Regions from separate parts of the Homo sapiens genome. Here regions 2, 3 and 4 are each linked to region 1. Evidence: promoter capture Hi-C in 16 types of primary human blood cells and fetal thymus (Javierre and others, 2016). All regions are on one chromosome and are shown on one strand. Each heading gives the region's core, a stretch centred on a gene start or on the middle of the fragment in contact. The rest is flanking DNA. Distances are from core to core; before and after follow the strand shown. Region 1 holds the start of ZNF417 (zinc finger protein 417). Region 2 overlaps ZNF772 (zinc finger protein 772). Region 3 holds the start of ZNF550 (zinc finger protein 550). Region 4 holds the start of ZIK1 (zinc finger protein interacting with K protein 1).

What was found. Contacts are between HindIII fragments. The CHiCAGO score rates a contact against its expected background, and 5 or more counts as called.
Region 2: a contact is called between a fragment that was not itself captured here and the fragment with the promoter of ZNF417 in region 1, in 3 of 17 cell types (non-activated CD4 T cells, fetal thymus and M1 macrophages). The highest score is 5.6, in non-activated CD4 T cells.
Region 3: the fragment with the promoter of ZNF550 here is called in contact with the fragment with the promoter of ZNF417 in region 1 in 1 of 17 cell types (megakaryocytes); the score reaches 5.6 in megakaryocytes.
Region 4: a contact is called between the fragment with the promoter of ZIK1 here and the fragment with the promoter of ZNF417 in region 1, in 1 of 17 cell types (total CD8 T cells). The highest score is 5.2, in total CD8 T cells.

The regions. Positions count from the first base shown.
Region 1 is chr19:57,915,342-57,918,425 of GRCh38, forward strand. ZNF417 (zinc finger protein 417) reads right to left here and starts at 1,251. Exons shown (of 3, transcript NM_152475.3): 1 at 1,038-1,251. The coding sequence starts at 1,070. RefSeq lists enhancers at 1,008-1,297, 1,316-2,171, 1,568-1,627. The HindIII fragment of the contact is 13,199 bases long and covers 1-3,084 here.
Region 2 is chr19:57,472,262-57,475,345 of GRCh38, forward strand. It overlaps ZNF772 (zinc finger protein 772), which reads right to left. Exons shown (of 4, transcript NM_001144068.2): 4 at 1-2,160. The coding sequence ends at 1,013. Among named protein-coding and RNA genes, the nearest start is that of ZNF772, 3.8 kb to the right of the region's middle. The HindIII fragment of the contact is 6,834 bases long and covers 1-3,084 here.
Region 3 is chr19:57,558,460-57,561,543 of GRCh38, forward strand. ZNF550 (zinc finger protein 550) reads right to left here and starts at 1,404. Exons shown (of 4, transcript NM_001397372.1): 1 at 1,197-1,404. The coding sequence starts at 1,223. LOC124904781 (a long non-coding RNA gene) reads left to right here and starts at 1,483. Exons shown (of 2, transcript XR_007067357.1): 1 at 1,483-1,659. RefSeq lists enhancers at 446-525, 670-1,534, 976-1,025, 1,512-2,711, 1,656-1,765. The HindIII fragment of the contact is 1,240 bases long and covers 791-2,030 here.
Region 4 is chr19:57,582,507-57,585,590 of GRCh38, forward strand. ZIK1 (zinc finger protein interacting with K protein 1) reads left to right here and starts at 1,639. Exons shown (of 4, transcript NM_001010879.4): 1 at 1,639-1,883; 2 at 2,446-2,484. The coding sequence starts at 1,851. RefSeq lists enhancers at 1,148-1,679, 1,376-1,475. The HindIII fragment of the contact is 4,281 bases long and covers 1-2,597 here.

The sequences.
Region 1 (3,084 bases), core at 1-2,500:
AATGCACAGCCCTCGGCCTGCTTACTCTTCCAGGGAGAGCTCCACCTCACACTTTGTTCCAGACAGGTTCCATCCTCCCGGCTCCGTCCATCTCCAGGCCATTGCCTGCGCCCCTCCCTGTGCTTGTTGCTCTCCCCACCGCATCCCACGGGTGTCAGAAACAGGTGAAACCGTCTTTGCAAAATTATAACTGAGGAAATTATGACAGTGAAAGAAATCAGACCTTACTGACTCCGTCTTGCTTCCAACCTTTCAGCTGTCCTTGTTCATTCCTGGGTATAGGCTGAATTAACTTAGGGAAGGAATTCAGTTCATGGTTTCACTCTGAAACAAAATTGATAATAGCCCTTTCCTGAAAAGACCCCCTTCTTGCCTGGAGAACAGCCTGCCTTTGCAGGACTAACGAATTAGCTACAAGGTTAGAAATTACCGTTTAGGGGTCATGCAGCTTCTGACTCCAAGAGTCTGAACCTCCCCAAGTTGCTCCTGAAGATAAATCACTATTGTAAAACCTAAGATCAGTGCTTGAGGTATTTTGCAGATCCTGCACTGGATGGATCAGCTGACAACACACAGACCGGTAATCTGGGTCAATCAGTTCTGCCATCCCACCCAGAACAGAAAACAGCATGAAAAACTCACTTTAACCCTCTATGAATCCATCTCAGGTCCCAACCCTTACCGCCAAATTAATGTTGAAAACTCTGATCCCGGAATGCTAATGGAGACTGATTTGAGTAATAATAAAACTCCTGTCTCCAGAACAGCCTGACGGCTCTGCGTCAATTACTATTTCTCCATCGCAATTCTCCAGTCTTCATAAATCGGCTCTGTCTAGGCAGCTGGCAAGGTGAACCCACTGGACAGTTACACAGGGACCCCCACTGGACAGTTACACAGGGACCCCTCCTGCGAGCGCCTCAGTGTTCCTACGCCGGGTACCGGCTACAGACCCGTGAGCAGGAGCCGCTCCCTCGCTGGTTTAGGACCTGGGTGACGATGGGGTGACCTGAGGGCACAGAAGGCGCCACAATTACCTGAGTCGGGCGCCTCGGCGCAGCCGCTGCCATCGGACTACTTGGGGAAGCACGGCCCGGGAGCAGTGGTCGCCGTCACGGGGCTGCAGAGCCGCCTCTGGGCACCGAGGACGATTCCTCTCCACCTTCTAGGTTCAGTCACCGCGGTCCCCCCCCAGCACTCAGGGGCCACAAACTGGGGAAACACCCGCGTCACCGATACACAGCCGCTACTAGAGACCCCGGAAGTCTCAGCCTTACGTTACGTGCACACGTGGAAATGCCTTCTTTCCGAGTGCTCATTGGCTCTGACCGGCTGTCGTTTAACGCAGAGCTTTCTGGGTAATGTAGTTCCCCACTTTCCATGGCGCTAAAAAGAGCGATACCCAGAGTCCATCTGCAGGAAAAGCCCGCCATCAGGTCAGGGGTTCTCCTTAAAAAGCGCACCCTTCTGGCCGGGCGCAGTGGCTCAAGCCTGTAATCTCAGCACTTTGGAAGGCGGAGGTGGGCGGATCACGAGGTCAGGAGATGGAGACCATCCTGGCTAACACGGTGAAACCCCGTGTCTACTAAAAATTCAAAAAAAAAAAAAGTTAGCTGGGTGTGGTGGCGGGCGCCTACAGTCACAGCTACTCTGGAGGCTGAGGCTGGAGGAGAATGGCGTGAACCTGGGAGGCAGAGCTTGCAGTGAGCTGGGATCGCGCCACTGCCCTCCAGCCTGCGCGACAGAGCAAGACTCTGTCTCAAAAAAAAAAAAAAAAAAAAAAAAAAAAAAAAAAAAAAAGGCGCCTTTCTAGGGCAGAGGAGGGGTCTCACCTAGCCTTAGAAGCCGTATTGAGATTCCTGGAGACTAGTGTCTGTAACTAATCACTCAAGAATCTGGAAAAATACTGTTTCAGATTTCGGGGAGCGCAAGGTAAATAATAGGGAGCTCAAGCTAAAACTATTATTTAGGATTCTCCTAAAGGCTAAAAATCCAAATTACCACACCGTTTGAAACAGTCGTTCAGTCGCAAAATACCTGCACTGGAAGCAGAGGCTGATAAGCGTTGTTGTGTTATAATGTGTCTGAAGGCCCTCAGAAGCCTTAGAGTGCCTAAGGCAAATGAAGGAAGTTAGGGATGTGCTCCCCTATAGCAGGAGTGCAAAGCTGAATCTCTGTGATTCCTACAGAAAACAACTCTCCTGCTGATAGAATCTGTGAAAGGAAAATCTTGTGGCCTCAAAATTACTAAGCTAAAGGGAAAAGTCAATCTGGGAACTGCTCAGGGCAAACTTGCCTCCCATTCTATTCAAAGTCTTCCCTCTCCTCACTGAGATAGATGCCTATTCTGATTGCCTCCTTTGGAAGGACTTATCAGAAATTAAAAAGAATCCAACTATTTGTCTCTCTACCTGTCTACCTGTGACCTGGAAGTCCCCTCCCTGCTTCGAGTTGTTCCCGCCTTTCTGGTCGGAACCAATGTACTTCTTACATATATTCACTGATGTCTCATGTCCCCCTAAAATGTATAAAACCAACCTGTACCCCAACCACCATGGGCACATGTCGTCAGGACTTCCTGAGGCTGTGTCACGGGCATGTGTCCTCAACCTTGGCAAAATAAACTTTTTCTTTTATGAGACGGAGTCTCGCTCTTTGGTCAGGCTCGAGTGCAGTGGCGCGATCTCGGCTCACTGCAACCTCTGCCTCTCGGGTTCAAGTGATTCTCCTGCCTTAGCCTCCCGAGTAGCTGGGAGTACAGGCACGTGGCATCACGCCAATTTTTGTAGTTTCAGTACAGACGGGGGTTTCACCTTGTTTAGGATGGTCTCGATCTCCCTCGTGATCTGCCTGCCTCACCCTCCAATGTGTTGGGGTTACAGGCATGAGTCACCACACCTGGCCAGCAAAATAAACTATTTAAATTAACTGAGACCTGTCTCAAATTTGGGGGGTTCACAAATCATTATAGCGTTCAATTAATTGAACAACACTTTTTCCCACTTAGTATCCTTTACTTGATATTCTAACTTACATTCAACTCCTTTTAGTAATTTGACATCAGTCTTATAAAGAACAATAAGG
Region 2 (3,084 bases), core at 293-2,792, 440 kb before region 1:
CAACTGCCTACTGAAAAATAGACTTCAGAGATCTTGACATGTCCACTGAGTTCAAATTCTCCTCAAGAAGCCTTGGGAATATGAAGTATCTTCTGGGAACAAGGGACGTAATTCATGTTGCTCCCAGACACATTAGAGATTATCACAACAAATGCCCACTGCTTAGGGTGACCTCAATTACACAAAAAATCTTAACATATAGACCAAAAGATTAGGCCTACAAAGACTGGCATTCTTTCCTAGGAGAGCTGAAGCAGTCAAGTAAGTTAGCTTGACACTAGCATAAGAGCTAGTCTTTGCCATCCTACTATCACTTCAGAGATACAGATAGTTGGAGCTCTCACAAAAGCTGTTCTTCCCTTCATACTGGCTTAGCTCAATTCTGTTCTCAACCCAACCCACAAAGCGAACAGAATCCTCAAGATTTCAGATAGTCTAAAAATTAAGGCATTTGTTGCAAAACCAGAATATGAGGCAGCCAATTTCAGGTCAGGTGTCTTGAAGGCTAGAAAAATTCGTCCCAAGTGCCATGTGAGATCAACTATATCCATGAAGGGAAACCTCTGCCAGTGGTCAGCAGAACAAAGCTCCCATTTTTCTGGCTAAAACTGGGTCATGCTCATGCTTAAACCAGTAGTGGGGCAGAAAAAAAGTGAGAATCCTTGATGGCCTCAGGCTACTGATGATTCCCTCCAGGGAAGGGAATAGTACAGAGGTCTGTCTTTTGAAACACATTGGGGTTACTTTGGCACAAGGCAGGACTCTTCCAGCACAAAGACAGATGGCTTCTAACAGGCACTGCCTTGACGAAATTCCAGCAAGAGTCTAGAAAATTCAGCATAGCTCCAGAAGGCTTCCCATATAGCTGGCACTCGGAAGAACCTCCCCAGGGTGAGTGTTTGAGTGTATAAAGTTCTACTTCTGGCTGTCGGCTACACATAAAGGCTATGCTTGGAGCTTCTCTCTGATGTCAGTTATTATGTTGAACAAGGAAACGGAATTATCTCCCATCCTAAGGCCTTTCTCCAGTGTGAATTTTCCAGTGGCGGATGAGGGAAGCCCTCTGCCTGAAGGCCTTCCCACATTCACTGCACTTATATGGCCTTTCTCCAGTGTGAATTCTATGATGCTGAACAAGTACATGTTTGTGGCTAAAGGCTTTTCCACATTCACTGCACACATAAGGCTTTTCACCATTATGAACTCTTTGATGTGCAATAAGGTCAGAGCTTTGGCTAAAGAACTTCCCACATGCGATGCACTCATAAGGCCTTGCTCCAGTATGAACACTCCAATGTTTAATGAGTCTGTATTTGTGACCAAAGTATTTTCCACATTCGCTGCACTCATATGGCCTTTCTCCAGTATGGATACTCTCATGCTGAACAAGTGTAGATTTGTGACTATAGGCTTTCCCACATTCACTGCACTTGTAAGGCCTTGCTCCAGTGTGTACTCTTTGATGTACAATAAGGTTAGAGCTATGATTAAAAACTTTCCCACATATGCCACACTCATAAGGCATTTCTCCAGTGTGGATTCTCTGGTGCTGAGCAAGTATGGGTTTGCGGCTAAAGGTTTTCCCACATTCACCGCACTCATAAGGCCTTTCTCCAGTGTGGACTCTCTGGTGTTGAACAAGTGAGTCTTTGCGGCTGAAGGTTTTCCCACATTCACTGCATTTGTAATGCCTTTTTCCACAGTGAGAGGCCTCCTCACACTTGGTGTTGCTGTGTGGCTTCCACTCATTGTGAGGGGCATGGTGCTCGAAAATGCTTGAGCTGGCTAGGAAGTCCTTACAAGCCTCCCCTGTCACAAAAGACATCTCCATTGATTGCACAGCACAGTTGTTCAGAAGAAAGGGCCTGCTCTTATCACTTCTAAAGGGTTTCTCTCCACTGTGCTGCTTCTGGTGCTGGTGAAGGTTTGCACTGAAGCAGAACTGTTTCCCACACAGCACACACATGTATGGTTTCTGCCCTGGGTGTGTTTCCTGGTGCTCAGCCAAGTGCAAAATGTCTTTTAAGACCAGGCCACATGTCCCACAGGGGTAAGCCTTCTGAGTAGAAGGACCTCCCTTGGGAATCCTGATCTGTGACATTCCTATAGAAAAGCTCTGCTCAAAAGGTATCTCTTCATCCTCCATTCCATGCCAACAACCTGAAAGCAGAGAAATGCTGGTGAAGTACAAATTGACACAGGTGGAAGAGGGGAAGCCTCACTACAAATATGTGTCTAACACAACTAAGACCAAGGTCATAGGACTGTTGTTAGGACAAGGGTCCAAACTCAAGTTCAGCAAATGTGTACTATACGGTAGTTGGCATCTAAATGTCATAGAATGGAGAAGGCCTCAACTGGGAGAGGACAAAGATGTGGGGTACAGCACAAAAAAGAGGCAGGTCTCAAAGTCATTCACAATCAGATTTTCTTGGCTGCTGGGGACAGGTGAGAGTTGTGCAGAAGGTTATGGTCCATACCAAAGAAAATCAAATTGCTACTCAGTAGTTGGTGTTTAAGGACTATTTGGGCTACACATCTCATGAAACACTAAGTACAGGCCAATGCTGGAAGGCACTGTAGAACAAGCCATGGAGAGGAACAGGTGAGACATGAAGGCAGAGGTATGGAACATCCAGAGGCCAAAGGCCAGAGTATGAAAGGCCAGTGGCCTTAGCACTAATACAACTGTAGGCACAAAGAGGCTATGGAATGATATGAACCCAGCCCTGACATCACACCTTTCCCCAGCTCCTACTCACCAGGGTCACTCCCACCTGGAGTCTCTGTGGCAACAGCTAGGGTCATGTCCACCCAGTCAGGTACCCAGGGCTCACTACCCATCACCAGTGAGGCAACTATGTGGGACATGAAAGATGTATGTCCTAAGGGAAAGATAGAACAGCACTGGTCTGGGTAACCCATATAGAAAACTAAATATTATTAAAATAATCTCAGAGTAAGGTCTTGCAGGAATAGTGCAGTGGTCCTAGCAAGTAGCGACCATAATGGTCCCTACAATTCCTGACATAGGCAGGCCACAGGAAATGTCAGCTAAAGGAAGAGCGCAGAATCCCAGGCACA
Region 3 (3,084 bases), core at 154-2,653, 360 kb before region 1:
AACCATTTATTAAGTACAATAAATGTACTTAAGCCTGGCTGTTCTGGGTCTTGGGAGAGGGAAGCAACAGGCACTCACATTCCAGGGTTGGAAAAAGATCCTAAACAGGCAACTAAATAAATGAGTAAGGCAATGTCAGATGGCCTTAAAGATTCAGATGACAAGAAAACAGAGCAAGGAGACCAAAGAGACTCTGGTCAGCTTTAAACGGTGCAACAGACGAGACCTCTTTAAGCAGCGGACACCAGAGGGAGTCAGAAATAAAGCAAAGGAGGGAGAGGTGGATGAGAAATTAACAACTACGACAGGAGCTGACAGTAATCTGGGCTATCATGAAAGTAATCAGAGTGACTGCTAGAGAGTAACCCTGGGCCTCATGTGTTATCTCCAAAGGGACACTACATCCTGCATACCATCGCCACTGAACATTTTAATGGACTCGTTTTTCACCTGTAACTAAATGTCTTAAACAGGAAAATATACTGTTAGTTGCAACCCAGCGTCCCTTGCCCTAAACTGAAAGACAAATTCCTCAGCCTGCCCTACCACCTTTTCTGCCCTGGCATAGCAGCAACCGCAGAAACGCTCCTCCCACCTCTTTCAGCCGCTGCCCTTCGTGTTGTAGAGACAGGAGGCCAAGGAGGCCAGAGGGTCAGACTCCTGCTGGGGTTGAGTCTCCAAACCTAGCACAGGCCCAGGGAGCAGCTCCGGAAACAACATCCTGAGCGACGTCCCCGGACCGTGCTGTGCACTGAGACGGACACACACACATCACCCAGGGAGCCGTTCAAGCTTCCTCAACCCCGGGGGGGGGAAGAGTAAATATTTCTACTTTGCGCGCGCAAAAATGAAGGACGAGGACAGTAACGGGACTTGTTCAAGGTCGCAGGCCCGAGAAAGGACATGGTTGGAAGAGCCACGAGGAGGACTGCGGTCGCTCCTCTCACCTGTGAGGGGTTCCGGGACCCTAAAAGCCCTATTTCATACCACAACGCCGCGCACCCCAGAAACGGGGACGCTCCCCACGCCACCGCGGGCCTGCATTCCGGACCCGGGACCGCGCGACCCCCTTCTAGGCCTCTAAGAAGCAACGGCAGGGACTGCACTGAGGACGACCCTGAAACGCCGTCCTTCCGCTCGTCGGGCCCGGGACACTGAGGCCGGGTGGCCGCGGGGAGCCGAGCCAGTCTGCTCACCTGCGCTGCGTCCTTCGTCTCCGCCATCCGACCGTTGGCAGGACGAGGCCGCGTGGGGCAGCTCCCACGGGCTCAAAACCCTACCCCGGGTCCTACAACGGTGCGGAGGTGAGCCCCAGTCGCCCTACCATCCTTCCCAGCACAGTTCTGAGAGCGCGGACCAACACGCCCCACCACAAACGTCCACGCCAGCGAGGCCGGAAGTCCCGCCCCTGTGTCGCGGTCGCCTGCCACGCCTTTTCCTGCGCCGGCCCACTGCCTTCTAGGTAATGTAGTCTTGTCCCGTAAGAGGCCAGGCTTGGCTCTTTTTCCTTTTTTATTATGCACACCATGTTTCTGTATATCTCAGATGATCTTAGCGGAGCAAGTGTACACACTGGATTGTAAATTTTTAAAACTTCCTATTATTCGGATGCCTCAACGTCCCTACAAGCAGGCTGTGAGCACTCGCCCAGGCACCCAGGTAAACGAGTTTGATAAAGGGGGCCCTGCCACGAGGTTCCCCGCTTGCCTCCTCTGAGTGACCCAGTGACATTCCCATGTACCAGTAAAATCTTACGCCTGGTTACTGCGTCCTCCTCCACCCTGACGCCAGGCACTGTCCCTGGGACTGGCGTGGATCTGGACCCCCGCTTCCCGCGTGGAGCCATTCCCGGGACATGCTCGTGGGGTTCCGTCTGTGGGACGTCTGCCTCCTCTGTGTGGACTGGTGTTGCCCAGGGCTCAGGAAGGTCTCCAGGGGCCGTGAGTCCCCGCCCGCTTCCGGAGTCCAGCTTCGTGACACCATCGTGAGAAAGAATGCAGGGATGAGTCAAAATGAAGCCAAAGGCAAGAAGCTTTTATTGGGAAGAAAAAGTACACATTTTTGAGAAGAGTGTACTTTTCCCAAGAGAAGAGGGAAATGCGGACGTACGAGGGAGAGCGGGTCATGCACAATGGAGTTTGGGTTTCTAATTTTATGGGCTCTTCTAATTAGGGGGTGGGATAATCATGAGGTTTTTCTAGGAAAAGGTGGGAATTTCTTAGAATTGGGGTGCCAACCATTTTTATACTAAATGTGGGCGTGCTTGGATTGGCCTGGCACTGGTGGGTGTGTGATTTAATGTGGCAATGAGTGTATAATTAGGTCTGGGGTAGGAAATGGGTCAAATCTAGCGTCATGGGACAGCCTAGCCCCAATCCTGTTTGTTAAGGTCTCATCAGCCCAGTCTTCTTGTTGGAGTAGCTAATTTTAACAGCTTGATGTTTTCCCCCTTCTCCTGTGACCACACAGCATTCCTATTTTGTGGGTGTTTCTTTAATTAGAGAGTGGAATAATTATTAGGTATTCTGGAAAAGGAGGGAAATTCAGGGACCCACCTGGTTACTGCCCCCTTTCTCTCTTATTTGGCTTTGCCCAGAAGAGTCATGGACATGTCATCCTGACTGGGATTTTGGCCATTCTTTCTCTTATTTTGGGTTTTCTGTTATCCTATGGTTTCTTTGCCTAGTTCTTGTTTTTATTTGTTGTTCGAATTTTTCCATCCTCCTGCAACCACCCAGTGCTATTCCTATATCACTGTGAGTATAAACACCCTTTAACCTTATAGGCTTCTTGAAGTATAATTCCCAAGACCATGTTGCAGTGGTCCTTAAAGAACCAATAAGGCAGAGAGAAACAAACATGTTCCAAATTTTGTTCTCAGGAGTAAACCTTACTCAATTGTTAAAGGCTGTAGCTAGCTCAAAAGAAGTTTCCTTGACTCTGAAAAACAAAACAAGGATCAGCAATGTTCCAAGCAAAAGTCAAAAAGATTATTTCAGTTTTTCTATTAGTTCAGCCTATTCTGTTAACTCTTGTTCTGCTTGATATTTATAAACATTTTAGCTTTTCATGAGTCCTGTATGT
Region 4 (3,084 bases), core at 389-2,888, 330 kb before region 1:
GAGACAACAGACCCCTTGCTTTCGGAAGTGTTTCAGCACTTGGGTTCCAGCCATAGCCTGATATTTTGGTTTCCTGTGGTGACAGGGTGGAGTCTGGTAGGTGAGACTTCAGCTCCGAGTGTTGGGTCAATGTTTTCTTTTCTCTTTTCTTTTTATTTATTTATTTATTTACTTATTTATTTATTGAGACAGGGTCTGGCTCCGTTGCCCAGGCTGGAGTGCAGTGGCATAATCATAACTCACTGTAACCGTGATCTCCTGGGCTCAAGCGATACTCCCACCTCAGCATCCTGAGTAGCTAGGATTACAGGTGCACCACCATACTCGGGTAATTTTTTAGTTTTTGTAGAGACGGGGTCTGGCTATGTTGCCCAAGTGGTCCTTCCACCTCAGCCTCCCAATGTGCTTGGATTACAGGTGTGAGCCACCGCGCTGGGCCTGACATTTTCTTTTCTGCACATTCTCTAGCTGTGTAACTTGCAACTCTTTAGCTCTGTGCCTGCAAAATAACTGGACATTATGTTACCAACAGAGGATGGCCAGATGAGACTGGTCCAGTGGTTAAACCTGCACCTTCATGGAGGCCATTATGAGTATCCCTACAGGCCGAGTCTCAGGGTGCCCCCAGAAGCCCATACCAGCCGCTGTAAGGCAGAGCATGGACTTCCCCTCGGGGACTAAATCCCATTCTTGGGCTCCAGAGGCCTTGTTCCTACCACTGTACGCCACCGCTTGGGGTGCCCTGGGAACCCGCCTACCTCCCTACTGCCCTGAGGGCGGTTGGAGATGGTCCCAGCAGGTGTGGGAGATGAGGTAGGAGACGTCTTCAACGGGGTCCAAGGCTCATCTGGACCCAGTTCTCAGCCGAGGGGCGGTGGAGAGGGCGTCAGAAAACGCAGGAACGGCTCCTAGACCCAGGAGGGGACTCAGGGAAGCAGAGGCGCTTTCCTCGGCGGCTCTGGGGCCTTCCCAGCTCGCCCGGCCCCCCTGGAGGAGACGTCCCCCGGGGTGGAGCTACGGAGAACCCCTTCCCATGGGACGTCTCGGCCCCGCCTCCCGCCTCTGGGTACAGTCAAAGGGCTCAGGTCAGAGCAGGAGCAGCCGGGGGCGCGGCCCCCACGTGGCCTCCCGGGACACGTGCCCACAGCGCGACACCTAAGTCGCTCCTTTCACAGAATAGCCTTGGCCCCGGCACGGCCTCGAACGCCTTGACCCCGCAAGGGAGGGGCACGAGGCTCCTTTGCTCCCGCAGGAGCGTCGAATACGTATGGAATACGCGTCGGTGTGGATCTGGCCTCAGCTTCCTGAGCCTGAATCAATGCTTCTAATCACGTGGGCGCTCAGCCGCGACGGGACCACAGAAATCGACCAGCGGCCTGTTTAAGGAGCGACAAGGCCCAGCCCTCTCCTGCATTGTGGCGACGCCATTTCCCTGCGCCCCCAGCGCGGCCGCTTGGCTTTTGTTTGAGGTGACGCTGGGCGGCAGCATCCTTCCCTCAGCCCTGGGGACCAGCGGGGACTACAGAACCCAGAAGGTTTTGTCTCCAGCCGCAGGGATGCTGAGCCAATCCGCGCTGAGAAAAGGGTCGTTTCCGCTTTGGGACCAATGGGTCGGGGAGGGACTTCCGGTATCACTTCAGTGGCGGTCATTTTTGCAGCGCTTGGGTGCATCCAGACCGTCAGAGCTTTGGGAGCGCTTTGTTTGGCGACAGTCGGAAGGCGCGAGGGGAGGGGTCCTCCCGCTGAACAGTGGGGGTTCTAAGGGTCGGCGGCGGCGGGGTTGACGGCTTTGCCTAGGTCCCTCCGCCCGTAGCTGTCGGGTCCCGGCCCCGCTCTGCCCACAGACTCCGATGGCTGCGGCCGCGCTGAGGGCCCCGACTCAGGTGAGCGCTGCCTCTACTGGGCCTCACCCTCCATCCCCAAATTAGTGCCTTCTTGGGTCACTACGGTCGAGATCCTCATGTCCAGTACAGTGGGGGCTCGTGGGTGGGGTCCCTATTTCCAGAACTTGGGTGATGGGGCACGGAAGAGGGTTACAGGCAAAGGGACCAGCGTTTCTAAACTCTTGGAGACACAGTGAAGAAGGTTCATACCTGGAGTGCCAAGGTGAGGAGTTTTCCCTCAATTCTTAGGATGCTAGGAGCCGTGGAGGGTTGTGTACAGAAGCGGCATATGGTCTGAGTTAGGTCTTTCGAAGTTTTCCAAAAACCTCATGGAGTTAGACTAGAATAGAATGGAATAACACAGAGGCACAGGGAGGTTGAGTTCTTGTGCAAGGTCCCACAGTTGCTAAGAGTTGGCACTGAGGACTGGAACGCTGAGGCTCAGAAATAATGCAGGCATCCTCAGTCCACCTGGCTCTGGCCTGGACAGGAATCCAGGGAAGCCTGAATCCGTAGAGCCCTGTATGGTCACCTGCCTTTCATGATCTTTGGCTTTCCACAGGTTACTGTGTCTCCAGAAACACATATGGACCTCACAAAGGTGAGTGGAGGGTGTCCCAGGCCCTCACTGGTCCTGGCCCCATCCTGGGGTTTTTTCATGGATCTTTTTGCCACCATCCAGTTCTTTGACCTAAGGACTCTTCACAAACTGGAAGCTTGACATCCTGATTCTAGACTGGTGGTTATTTGTAGACGTTCTTATTGCTGGCAGACAATGGAATGAGGTGTGAAAGGTTGCCCCGCCTACGTACAATAATGTGTAAGGTTGGCAGTGAAGCTGAGCTGATTCAGGGAAACACAACTCTCCTTTCTTTCTCATGGGAACTCAGAGCAGCAGGGCAGGACTCAGGCCTGGAATGGCTCTGAGAAATTGGGTGTTTTTTCTGGAGGTGATGAGAACAATGGGAGGTTTAGAGAAGAGAACGGAGGTTATCTGACACTGGTCTCATCAGGTTCACTGTTAATGCAGCATAGAGAATACTCTGTGGGTGTGATGGAGGCGATAGAAAGACCAGGGAGGAGGCTACTGCAGTGGCCAAGGTGAGTTTTGATAGTGGCTTCACCAGTGTGGTGGCTGTGAAGGTAGAAGAAGTGGCTGGATTCTGGGTCAGAATTTTAATTAGGCCTGCTTGCATTTTCA